Regions from separate parts of the Homo sapiens genome. Here all the other regions are linked to region 2. Evidence: promoter capture Hi-C in 16 types of primary human blood cells and fetal thymus (Javierre and others, 2016). All regions are on one chromosome and are shown on one strand. The core of a region is centred on a gene start or on the middle of the fragment in contact, and the rest is flanking DNA. Distances in the headings are between cores, read along the strand shown.

What was found. The method cuts DNA at HindIII sites, captures the fragments that hold promoters and counts their contacts. A CHiCAGO score of 5 or more calls a contact.
Region 1: a fragment that was not itself captured here is called in contact with the fragment with the promoter of DHX57 in region 2 in 1 of 17 cell types (M2 macrophages); the score reaches 7.1 in M2 macrophages.
Region 3: a contact is called between a fragment that was not itself captured here and the fragment with the promoter of DHX57 in region 2, in 1 of 17 cell types (M2 macrophages). The highest score is 5.0, in M2 macrophages.

What each region holds. Positions count from the first base shown.
Region 1 is chr2:39,016,936-39,021,595 of GRCh38, forward strand. All of the region lies in intron 10 of SOS1 (SOS Ras/Rac guanine nucleotide exchange factor 1), which reads right to left. Among named protein-coding and RNA genes, the nearest start is that of SOS1, 100 kb to the right of the region's middle. The HindIII fragment of the contact is 1,191 bases long and covers 2,746-3,936 here.
Region 2 is chr2:38,874,082-38,878,414 of GRCh38, forward strand. DHX57 (DExH-box helicase 57) reads right to left here and starts at 1,853. Exons shown (of 24, transcript NM_198963.3): 1 at 1,706-1,853. It overlaps MORN2 (MORN repeat containing 2), which reads left to right and starts at 1,895. Exons shown (of 5, transcript NM_001145450.3): 1 at 1,895-2,029. The coding sequence starts at 1,972. RefSeq lists an enhancer at 1,062-2,046. The HindIII fragment of the contact is 7,829 bases long and covers 1-4,333 here.
Region 3 is chr2:39,035,331-39,039,708 of GRCh38, forward strand. It overlaps SOS1 (SOS Ras/Rac guanine nucleotide exchange factor 1), which reads right to left. Exons shown (of 23, transcript NM_005633.4): 7 at 60-170. Among named protein-coding and RNA genes, the nearest start is that of SOS1, 84 kb to the right of the region's middle. The HindIII fragment of the contact is 6,152 bases long and covers 1-4,326 here.

The DNA of each region.
Region 1 (4,660 bases), core at 2,091-4,590, 140 kb after region 2:
TTCTTAAGCCAAAACTTCTGGCCATTTCAGTTCTTTAGTAATTGATTATAATGCTGGGAAAGCCATGATGTGTCTCAGTGCCACAGTCAAATGGGATCACACCAATTCTTGGTCTATTATGTAACATTCTCAAAGAACTTTGACATAACTTATTTCATATGATTTATGTGAGGTGAGCAGGGCTGGAAGAGATGTAACTAGACTTATCTAAGGTCATACTGTAGAGTGGCAGAGATGGACCCAGAACCTAGATCATGTGATTCCTGATTTAGTGCTCTTTTCTATCATATCGTATAACCTCCCTGGATTAAAGAAACCCTTAAAGTTTCCACAGCTGTGAGATCTAAATATAAAGAATTAAACCTTGAGTTATATAACCACTATAGAAATTTACATGAATGATTAACTCAGAATGTACCTGTACTGCTAATCTTGGTTAAAGGCACCAGAAAGTCACTGAAAAATTAGCAGTCTAATTGTGATTCTGTAACTCTTGATCAGCCTTATTCTAGATTTTAGGAATTAACAGCTGTACCTTCCTGTATGCTGTACAGGGTTTCTGCAGCTGGCAGTGAAATAAACACTCCCATAATCATGACTGTTGTATTAGGTTCTAGAGTTGTTTTTAGCTTGACTGGAATTAAGAGTAGTCTTGCCAAAAAGACAAAAGCAGCAGAAACTAAAAACAAACCAAGAAAATCTGGCAAAAATTTAAGTACTTTCAAAAAATATCTTAAAGGCTGCATATAGTCCCAGGCTTGTATTAATTTATATTCTGTTTTTAGTCTAAAGCAATGAAAAATTGCTAATGAATGAAAAACATACTAAGACGACAAAGTACTTATATTTGAAATTTTACACAGAAAAGCATAAAAATTCCAGACATTATTTTTATTTCTATTGGATTGGTTTCTCCATTTCAATGACTGTAACACACACCATGTCGCTAACCACTGGAGACGTTTATCTTACTGATGATGTAAAGAGCTAAGATAATATAAACAAATGCCCATCAATAAGGACAGGTTATATAATTCTGTAAGAAAACAGAATACCTAGTTCCATTGATTAGGCAATGGTAAAAGCTAAGTTTTATACTGCCGTTGTTAGTTGTGGAGCAGCAGTTATCTACCCATATTCTAAAACCATGTTGCAGAGAGAGATGAAAGGTAAACACATAAAAATACAAAAGCCAGTCTGGGTTTGGCTTTATAACATAAGCAAAAACATATAATCCTAGAAAAAAATTAAAAATAGCCCATTTTTATATTCTCCTTTCTGTTTATCACTTACTTGTGGAGATAATTCCACAAAATTCTTTCTCAAACATGATCTCCTGATGAATTTCAATATGGTCAACAACCAAAACTTTTTCTACAGTTTTTCCCCCTCATCATTAGAGATAACATTACTTTGCTACTTGACTCTCAAATCCCTACGCTAAGGTTTCCACCATGTTCACTAGTTGCTCTGCTTCCCCCAATCAAAACAGCTAGGTTATTTTCAAACAGAAATAACCAGGTTATTTCAAACAGAAGCTGTAGTTATTTTTTTCTGCTGACCTTCTGTCTCTGTTTTCCTCACTATAAAACCATTATTTGATATTTTACTGCACAATACTTCAAAATTTTAGGAACTCAGAGTATACCTACATTAGTGTTCAGAATATAGATTGGAAGTGATAATCCAATCCTTTTTCCTTATGTGCCTATTTTGATTGACATGACATTTTATTTGACAAGGTCAATGAAATTTGTATTTATTACATAAAAAAGTTATTTATGTAAAGACCACCCCACCCCCAACCACCACAGTAAAACACTGTTATAATCAGGATGTCTGTTCATGTGATAATTCTCCCTTTAATGCAGCCATTTAAAAAGCTACAAGAAACAATAAGCTCCTCAACAAGGATTTATAAACAATCAGTCTTGAATTCCTTAAAAAAGGAAACAGACGCTATGCTGACGCACAAACACTTTTTTAAAAAATCAGAGAGTATAAAAATAGAACAGCGCTGCCCTATAGATGAAAAATTGTTCAAAAGATTTAAATAAGTTAAAACACCGAAACTGAGCTTATATAGGACACAAACTCAAAATAAATCTAATTCAGGTTTTTGAGGCTTTTCCCTATGAAGGTATAAAATAGCAGTAAATACTTTAAAGAAAACGATCTTCTGGCTTAAGTTTTTTCAATACCATCTTCTGGAAAAGAGAAATTCCCAGGCAAGGGAAACACCTTTTCCCTCACTTCAATATGCAAAGCTTTTATTTCCCATAAAATGTCAATTCTGAATTATTATCCTTACTTCAGGGTCATCTCATTTTTCTAAAATAGACTACCAAACTGGACACAGCACCACCTACCATTTATCTACTCGTGTTGTTTTAGGTCTCATTAACTTGTACTTTGTTGCCTACAACAACTCTGTAACAGACGTGAAATTCCTACTCTCAACTTTTTATTTGTGCATATTGCTTTGTGCTTTCTTACTTAGGATAAGGAAATAGTCTCTTCATACCATTGCCAGATTTAGAATGATCCATCCAATTGGATAATTTTTCCCCTAGTTTTTGGGACAAACCCCAAAGTTCTGATATAGTCAGCAAATTATGATACATCCAGAAACACCGAATCTGAGAGACAAGCTATAAATTAGATTCCACCTAAGACCCTGTTGCAATCTTTTAAGCAAGTTAACCACTTTCTAATTCACCTAAATTTAAATTTTTCTTTCCACAAAGCTTTCCCTTTAGTGAGCAAACTACATCAATAGACTAATAATTGGGTTTTGTAAAAAAATAAAAATAATAATAATGACCAGTATCTATACATAAAAAATCTATGCATTCCAATGGAAGTGTATCTATAGTCAGAGCTTACCTATATCCTATTTCAAGAAAAAAAAATTACTGACAATATCTTCATAGTACGCACGTTTGCCCAGAAATGAACAAGCCATTTATATTATTGGCAGTTCAAACCAAGGAAGTAATTTATTTATTTTTTTTGAGCTCACATCTGTACCAGATCCTTTTACTTAATTATTAACACATATAATTAAAAAATTACAACATATTCTATTCATGAAAACAATCACCTTATATGAGTCAATGTAACATGGTAGAAAATATACTCTATTTAGAGTCAAGAAACCTAATTCTTGACTTGTTCTGGAATTAACTCGTAATAGAACTTCTGGGAAATCATATAATCTTCAGGGGCCTTGGGATTTGTCTACAAAGTGAAGGCTTGGGCATCTCTTCTAGCATTAGAGATCTATAGCTCCATTTTGTACATTACTGTTAAAATATTTGAGGGATAAAGTTGGCTGACACCACAGTGAAGTCTGAATAAAGTAAGGTTAAACCAGTTTCTCTTCTGTTTTTATGACAATGTCTAACCAAACTATAATAATCTAAAAGATGTCTGTAAGTCGTGTCTTATAGTATTCATTAAATTTTCTCATGTATTATATCCAATGTCTTTTATTACAATTCTATATAATAAAATAAAAATGTGTAAGTTAAATGTTAGCTTTGTTTCAGTGTAAGCCACAACCTGTACTGCATGTTCTCCAATAAACATACCTACTAACCAAATCACAAATCCCTTTTCTCTTTGGGGAGGCTGAAGAAAGATGAGAGGAGAAGAGCAGACCAGTAGTTCTTAAAAACAAATGGTAACTTGATCTGTTACCATTGTAGTGAGGCCTTAAAAGTCCATTTCAGTTTTACAAGTTCACAGATGGTCTATTAAAAACCATTCTATGTTGCCAGTAATAACTTCAGTAACAGACCTTACAGAATAGCCCAAATAAGCTAACAGTTAACACTAATGTGTGTGTACTGTAAACCACAACTCACGAAAGCTGCTTGTAGACTCCAGTTTCACCAGTAATATATTTATGACATAAATTAAAATATTCAGTTAAGCTTCAAAAGAAGACAGAAAAGAAAAATATCAAAAAACTTAGCCACAACACTGGCCTTTTATTTCTCAAAAAATTATTGGAAGGAATTTTTTAAAAACATTTTTTTTAAGTAAAATAATCTCATCAACTTAAATTTTCAATACACTTAACTTTGGCAAAGTTCTATAAATCTTGAAATTTAAGTGTTTTATATTCATTATAAGTAAAAGCACTCAAAATATTACTCTATACCAAAGCTAAAAATTGATATAGAAAAGAAGTATCAGACAGAAATAACTAATAAAACATCATTACAAAAGTACCATGTCCACGGACTTTACCTAACATTGTACACATTAAGGAAAGAAGACTTTCAGGACTACAAAACAAGTATCAGCTTGTTCCAGTTAATTTTGCTTTAAAGTGTCCTCATTTAAAAAAATAAATAAAAGGGACAGTTCCCCAGACAATAGTTGTAACCATTCTTCAGCTGCTTATTAATAATCATAAATTAACTTTGTGAAATATAGCAATTTAGAGAAAACTTCTATCACTCAATCAAGTCTTACAGAAACAATTAAAAATTTTGTAATTTGAAAATGTTTTCCTGCCCAAGTATCACTGACTTGTGACAGTAAACACTAGTAGTAAGTCTTCTTACAATGCTCTACAGGAAAAAAAAAAAAAAAAAAAAAATTAAAACTTCTTTCTTACAAACACAGAGAAAAATCTAAAGATTAATTT
Region 2 (4,333 bases), core at 603-3,102:
TTTCTTTTTTCTTTCTTTCTTTTTTTTTGAGACTGGATCTTGCTCTATCACCCAGGCTGCAGTGCAGTGGTACGATCATAGCTTACTGCAGCCTCGATCTCCTAGGCTCAAGCAATCCTCCTGCCTCAGCCTCCTGAATAGCTGGGACCACAGGTGCACCACCACACCCAGCTACTTTAAACATTTTTTAGTAGAAATGAGGTTTCGCTTTGCTGCCCAAGCTGGTCTCGTACTCCTGAGCTCAAGCAATCGTCTCACCTTGGCCTCCCAAAGTGCTGAGATTACCGGCATGAGCCACTGTGCCTAGTTGAAATACTGTATTTTTTTTTTTTTTTTTTTTTTTTTTGAGACAGAGTCTCACTCTGTCGCCCAGGCTGGAGTGCACTGGCGCAGTCTCAGCTCACTGCAACCTCCACCTCCCGGGTTCACGCCATTCTCCTGCCTCAGCCTCCTGAGTAGCTGGGACTACAGGCACCCGCCACCATGCCCGGCTAATTTTTTGTATTTTTAGTAGAGACAGGGTTTCACCGTGTTAGCCAGGATGGTCTCGATCTCCTGACCTCGTGATCCGCCCGCCTCGGCCTCCCACAGTGCTGGGATTACAGGCGTGAGCCACCGCGCCCGACCTGAAATACTGTATTTTCAATCTGTGTTGGGTTGGGAAAAATCCACCTGTAAGTGGAGCCGGGTAGTTCATACCCATGTTGTTCAAACGTCAACTTTACTCACAAAAATGTAGAGTCATTAAAATCTTAACAGGCAAGAAAAATAACAGGTCAAACTGAATTCTGTAAGGTTGTGCACCAATAATTACCTATTATTTCTAAAATTTAGGGAAATGAAATAACAAATCAGTTAGATTAGAACTTCATCTCAAAAACCATGCAGCCCAGGTAAATTTGTGTACTGAGAAACATTAGGAAAAAGCAAGAGGATACTTACGCTGAATCAAAACAAGTTGTCTCACACCAACCCAGAAAATGTTACTTTTACAACTAGATCTGAGATATGCGCTTAACATTTTAAACGAAGATTTACTGACTGTAATGGTGTCCAATACCACTCTCCCAGAGTTTTCAAGGGAATAGGAATTAGGTTGTATAATCCACGTGGTTAGATTCCACTATCTATTCCATCTAGCCCGGGAAGACTCCAACTATCTTTCTTCACCATGGATACAGGGACCTAAGTTTGGCTGTAAGAGTATTCTTTGTTTGATAGCCAAGGCACTGAAAAGTGACTACACACTACTCTCCTCCCAGGCAGATCTCTGACTGATCACAATATATCCAGCTCCATCCAGATATCCAGATCTCGTATCCTTTTTCGAACTCACATCGTCCCCACCCTTCTCCCCAAAAAAGCCACACAGACGGAGTCAGAGAACGGAGCCTGATCCCTTCAATCAACCCCTTAGCCTGCTCCAAGACTGAATTTCACGCCCCGCCCCCCCCGGCCCCAACCTGCAGTTTGAGCGTGGACAACCTCAGCGGCAGAGCCCGCCTTGGTTCGGTATCAGGGCCTGGGATCCTGCTGGTCCAGATTCACCGGCCCCAGGCAGACTGGATGAAACACACTGGGCCGCGATGCTCGTCAGATCCCGACCACTCCTGGAGCAGGAGGCGGCAGACACACTGACAAACAGGGTGACGCGCACACCGTGCGCACAACGCGCATCACTTGTCCGCAGAAGTGGAAGACGTACCTGGCTCGCAGAGTTGGGTCCCGAGCCGGCTGTCGGGAGGTGCTGCCCAAGGGTCAGAGGTCCAAACTGGACTTGGCCACCCTCACGATTCTCACTTGGAGCAGCCCTGCGGTGGCCCAGCTGCAGCGGCACAGTCCCGGCGCCTTCTGATTGGCTCAGCTACAGCCCCTCGCGTATTCGCTTCCGGGTGAGAGGTGCCCGGTCGCCCCAGCAACCAAGTCGCACCTGGAGCTGTCCTAGCGCCTAGTTCTCTCCCGGCCGCAGAGCTGGCCGCCCAGGGGGAGTCGCAGAGTTTGGAAGATCTCTCTAACACCTCTCGGCCAAGTGAGTGTCCCTCCTCCTAACGACCCGGGCAGAGAAGAGCTCCTTTAAGTCGAACTAGCGTGGAGTCAGAACCTGCTTGGCTCCCGGTAACTCCTGTGGGGGTGTGATATATTTCCTGACCGTCTAGCCGAGGGGCACGGGGGAACCCCTGGTCTGGGAATCTAGCTCTGATTCTGTTGTTAATTCGCTGTTGAGACACCCGAGGCGCGTGCCAACCTCCCTGGGCCTCAGTTTCCGCTATGGTGCCGGGTGGTCTCTGTGAGGTTCCCTCTAGCTCTGACGTTCCCAAGTTTCGAATGTAGAACATTTTAGCGGCAATTGAAAACAGTCCAGTTTCTGATATGATTACGTTTAATGCTCTGCTTCATAGGCACTTAACGATTCCTTCCGAAGTGCCCTTCATTCACTAGACGTTCTGTTACTATTAGTACTAAACACGGAGTCGGACAGTGGGGTGAGAAGAGATTTGACTAATCTGCCATCCGTGTCCTGGAGGAACTGGGTGGGATAGGGGATCCCGATACAAAAGCATGGTTTTAATAGAACCTTAAGTACTACAGTAGGAATAGGCCCAGAGTGCCGTGGGGGTTCCTGAAGGAGTCTGAGGTTGACAAGTAATGAGAAGAAAGGCTTTGTGGGAGAGCTCATACCTGAGCTGGGGCTACAAGAATACAATAGCTAATATTTACAGAGTTTAGACACTGGGCTAAGTGCTTTAACTAGATTAGCTCATTTACTTGATTTGCCCCATCTAAGGATGAGGAAACTGAGGCATAAGATAATTATTTGTCCAAGGTCAGAGAAAATGGTGGAGTCTGGATGCAAAGGTAGGTAGTCCGATGCCAGAGCATGAACCCCTAACTACTACACTCTATTTTGCCAACTCTTGAGGATGAATAGCAGTTAACCAGGTAAAGAAGAGAAGGGTGTTCCACCCAGAGTACGGCATGGCATCTGTGGGAAACTACAAGCAGATCTGGTAATCTAGTTAGTTATCATTAGTTAAACACTTAGAAAGTAGCTCTGACGCCTGTAGTTCCAGCTACTTGGGAGGCTGAGGCAGGAGAATGGCGTGAACCCGGGAGGCGGAGGTTGCAGTGAGACGAGATCAAGCCACTGCACTCCAGCCTGGGCGACAGAGCGAGACTCCGTCTCAAAAATAAATAAATAAATAAATAAATTAAATTAAATTAAATTAAATTAAAAAATAAAAAAGAAAGAAAGTAGCTCTGTGTCCCTGCTCTCTTGGAATTTCACATCTTGCAGACATGTAAATAACTAATTAATGAGCACACATGGCAATTTCTGTATACCACCATACTTCACCCTTTATCCACAACCAAATCTTAGAAATTATGGGGAAAAAATAAGCAAACATAACTAAATTCAGATTTTTCTAAGATTTAGTGTTAATTAGTGTCTATATTTAACCCCTAAACGAGATCAGAATTCTAGCAAGATTGCTCTCTATCCTCCACACCATTTCCATATTGATATTACCTGAGTTTTAGTTACAGATTCTTTTTTTTTCTTTTTGAGTTTTTAATTTTGGTGTAGATGGAATCTCACTATGTTGCCCAGGCTGGTCTCAAACTCCTGGGCTCAAGCAGTCCTCCCACCTCACCCACCCAAAGCGTTGGGATTACAGGCATGAGCCACCAGATTCTATTTTTAAAACTTAATTTTTTTTATTTTATTATTTTTTTAAGACAGAGTCTTGCTGTCTCACCCAGGCTGGAGGGCAGGGTGTGATCGGACTCACTGCAGCCTTCACTTCCTGGGCTCAAGCGATCCTCCCACCTCAGCCCCCAAGTAGCATGGACAACAAGCATGCAACACCACACCCAGCTAATTCTTGTATTTTTTGTGGAGAATGGGTTTCACCATGTTGCCCAGGCTGGTCTCGAACTCCTAGGCTCAAGCAACCCACCCTCCTCAGCCTCCCGAAGTGCTGGGATTCCAGGCATGAGCCAGTAATTCATCCTACCAGCGTGCCTGCCAGTTTCCATGATTTTAGATTGATAGTTTCGTTGGATGTAGAATATTAGGTTGAAAATAATTTTGTCTCGGAATTTTAAAGACATAGTGCCATTTTTTTTTAGAATCCACTGTTGCTAATGTCAGTCCTTTGTAGTTTATTGTAGGTAATCTGGTTTTTGTTTGCTTGTTTTTAACTAGCCTAGCTGGCCTTTGGTCTTTATGTCATGAAATTGTACTGTAACCTGTCTAGGTGTGGGATTTTGCTTAGTTCCCATTTGTAGTCCAAGCAGTCATTTTCTTCAGTTCTGAGAAAAATTTGGCTAT
Region 3 (4,378 bases), core at 1-2,500, 160 kb after region 2:
ATTTTTTTTTTAAGTTTACTTTTCAGACATTGTACATCTTCATTTAAAAATTACTATACCTGCAAATAAAGTGCTGCCCCAGGCTTTGATAACTGACTAAGGAAACGATCATGAAAACCAGGTCGCAAAATATCTCGAGCATACGATTCATATGGATCAAATGCCAGTTCCTTAGAAAATAAAGAAGGTAAAACATAAATAATTTACCATTACAAACACAGAAAGATTTAATTATGGGGCACGACTATGCGAGCACAATTATGTATGTCTTTGAAAGTCTCTAAGCAAAAATTATATGACTACTAATTATAATTTTAATAGAAGAGATCCCAATATTCTCAAGTAAGAGAGTAAATCAGTTCTTTCTGATGAATAATAAAATCCTTATATGTTATAACAGCTCTCATTAAAGGTTTCCAGTAGAGTATTATCAACAAACATGGCCATAAGAGTGGGCAGACTTTTGGTTCTAGAAAACAAATCTTAACTTGACAACAACAAAGAATATAGATATGTACAACTAGGTAAGGTATAAACATTTAGAATACTGAAGCCAGACATGTTTTTATAGTTCTCAGTGGTGGACATGTACTTTCGTATTCTATAAACCAGAAGTAACAGTTCATGTCATCTAAAATTCATTGTGATAATTTCACAAAACAATTAAACAAAATCCGAACTGCCCAAAATTTTGCCATCATTAATATCACCAATCAATAAACTAAATTCTAATGGCTCAGTTAAAAAGACCAGAATCTACTGGTTTTGAAGATTTCTGGGGAAAAAGAGAGTAGGTATCTTGATTTTAGCAGGAGAAATAGAGTCGCTACTCTTCTATCTTGTATAAAACTATTATGAAAATGGTGCTCTAGATTCTAGCATGAGCTCATTTCCATAAAGGGTAATTCTAGCAAGAGGAATAGGACATCTAGTGGAGGAGCATAGTAGAAAAAGGCAGAAGGGAATGAAACAACGAAAGGTTGTTATGAATTAAATCACCCTTAATGTTATTTTTCAGATTGCTTTTTTTTTGAAACAGGATCTTGGTCTTACTCTGTCACCCAGGCTAGAGTGCCGTAGTGCAATCTTGGCTCACTACAACCTCTGCCCCCTGGGCTCAAACAATCCTCCCACCTCAGTCTCCTGAGTATCTGGGACCACAGGCGCACACCACCGCGCCTGGTTACATTTTTTGTGTATTTTGTAGGGACAGGGTTTCTGCCATGTTGACCACCCTGGTCGTTTTTTGTTTTTTCTTTTTGGGACGGAGTCTCCCTCTGTCGGCCAGGCTGGAGTGCAGTGGCGCGATCTCGGCTCACTGCAAGCTCCGCCTCCCAAGTTCACGCCATTCTCCTGCCTCAGCCTCCCGAGTAGCTGGGATTACAGGCATCCGCCACCACGCCCGGCTATTTTTTTTTGTATTTTTAGTAGAGACAGGGTTTCACCGTGTAAGCCAGGATGGTCTCTATCTCCTGACCTCGTGATCCGCCCGCCTCGGCCTCCCAAAGTGCTAGGATTACAGGTGTGAGCCACCGCGCCCGGCCTGACCAGGCTGGTCTTGATCTGCTGGACTCAAGTGATCCTCCTGCCTCAGCCTCCCAAAGTGCTGGGATTACAGGTGTGAGCCACTGCGCCTGGCCTCAGATTGCTTTTTAAGAAATGATTGAACAGTAATACCACCAGATCAGAAATCAGAAGACGTGAGTTCTGGTTGTTGCATTTTGCAATATGGCATGTAAACTTCCAAGTCATACTGGATTCCTTGAGCTGGCTCTTAGTTGACTTCCCAATTTTTAACTCCTTCAACTTTCTTCTCAACTAAAAATTGCTATCATAATATAACACCAGAAATTGGAGTCTATTACGTTTTACAGAAATTGATAGTAAAGTTTCAAAAACAACAAGAGGATGGAGTCAGGCATGAATACAGTGGACGGAAGAGAAGACTAAAAATGTGAAGAGATGCTTATAGCTTAGGTCTCTTCCAATTCAGAAATGATCATATGCCAAATATCATAATGTATACATTCATCTATAAGTTGCCTTTTATACTCAAAAATTTTTCAAGATTCATCTATTTTGATTCATACAGTTCCTTTCAGTTTATTTTAAAACTATAATATTCTACTGTATGAATATATCAGTTTTCTCTAATCCATTCTCCACTGATAGATAACTGTTTCTTGTTTTTCACAATTATAAAAAAAAATTCTGTAATTTGCACTTGGTATGCAGGTACACTTCACTTTATGGTGCTTCACTTTATTGTGCTTTGCATATATTGCCTTTTTTTTTTTTAACAAGTTGAAGATTTGTGGCAACCCTGTGTGAAGCAAGTCTTTTGGCCCCATTTTTCCAACAGCATGTGCTAATTTTGTCTCTGTGTCGAAATATTTCAAACTTCTTCACCATTACTATTGAGCCAGTGTTCACTTACCATTCTGAAAATCCTAGGGCCCTTAAGGATTGTGCTAAATCTACTCTGGGTGTGCCCTATAAATGCAACAGCAAAGCCTGGATGATAGTACAACTGTTTACAACATGGTTTACTGAATACTTTAAGCCCACTATTGAGACCAACAGCTCAGAAAAAAAAAAATTTCTTTCAAAATATTGACATTGCACCTAGACACCTAAGAGCTCTGATGGAGATATACAAGGAGATTAATGTTGTTTTCAAGTCTCTTAACACAACATCCATTCTGCAGCCCATGGATCAAGGAATAATTTTGACCTTCAAGTTTTATTATTTCACAAATATGTTCTGTAAGGCTGTAACTGACATAGATAGTGATTCCTCTGCTGCAGCTGGATAAAATCAACTGAAAACCCTCTGGAAAGGATTCACCATTCTAGATGCCAGTAAGAACATTTGTTATTTATGGGAAAGGTCAAAATATCCACATTAACAGGAGTTTGGAAGAAGTTGATTCCAACTCTCAGGGATGGCTTTGAAAAGTTCAAGACTTTAGTTGGAGGAAGTAACTGCAGATGTGGTGGAAATAGAAAGAGAAATAGGATTAGAAGTGGAGCCTGATGATGTGACTTGAATTGCTGCAAGTTTATGATAAAACTTGAATGGAGAATTTGCTTCTTATGGATGAGCAAAGAAAGTGGTTTCTTGGCTGGGCGCGGTGGCTCACGCCTGTAATCCCAGCACTTTGGGAGGCCAAGGCAGGCAGATCACGAGATCAAGAGATCGAGACCATCCTGGCCAACATGGTGAAACCCTCTCTCTACTAAAAATACAAAAATTAGCTGGGCATGGTGGCACACACCTGTAGTCCTAGCTACTCGGGAGGCTGAGGCAGGAGAATCGCTAGAACCTGGGAGGCAGAGGTTGCAGTGAGCCGAGATCACACCACTGCACTCCAGCCTGGCAACAAAATGAGACTCCGTCTCAAAAAAAAAAAAAAAAGTCGTTTCTTGAGATGGAACCTACTCCTGGTGAAAATACTATGAACATTTTTATGACAACAAAGGACTTAGAATATTACATCAACTTAGTTGATAAAACGGTGGCAGAGTTTGAGAGGATTGACTCCAATACTGAAAGAATTTCTACTGTGGGTAAAGTGCTATCAAACAACATCACCAGCTACACAGAAATCTTTCATAAAAGAAAGAGCGAACAGTTGTGTCAAACCCCATTGTTGCTTATTATTTAAACTGCCAGTCACCCCAACCTTCAGCAGCCATCAACATCAAGGCAAGACCCTTCACCAGCAAAAAGATTATGACTCACTGAAGGCTGAGAGGATTATTAGCATTTTCTTAGCTGTATTTCTAAATCTAGGTATATATGTTGTTTTAGACATAATGCTACTGCATGCTTACTAGACCACAGGATAGTGTAAACATAACTTTTATATGCACTGTAAGCCAAAAAAATAGTGACTTGCTTTATTGTGACATTCACTTTATTGCAGTAGTCTGAAACCTAAGCCACGATATCTCTGAGGTATGCCTGTATAACTTAGTGTGCACATATGCATGAATATTTTTTAGAGCATGTAAACTAGAAGGGGAAGTTGCTTTCCAAAGTGATTATATCGATTTATATACTTAGCAGCAGTGATTTTTCCCAGTTGTCCACTTCCTTGTCAACATTTGATACTATCAGACTTAAAATTTGTTAGCCTGATGTTGTGAGACTATGCCAGTGTTATTTTTATATGTATTTCCCTGATTACTAGTAAGGTTGAGAATCTACTTATATGGTTGTGCGCCATTTATTTGTATCTTCTCTTCTGAGAATTGTTTATTAATAGCTTTTGACCATTTTTATTAGCTTGACTTTACATTTTAATTTATAGTTTTTAGAAAAGCTTTATTGAGATAAAATTCTAATACATTCACTTCACCCATTTAATGGGCA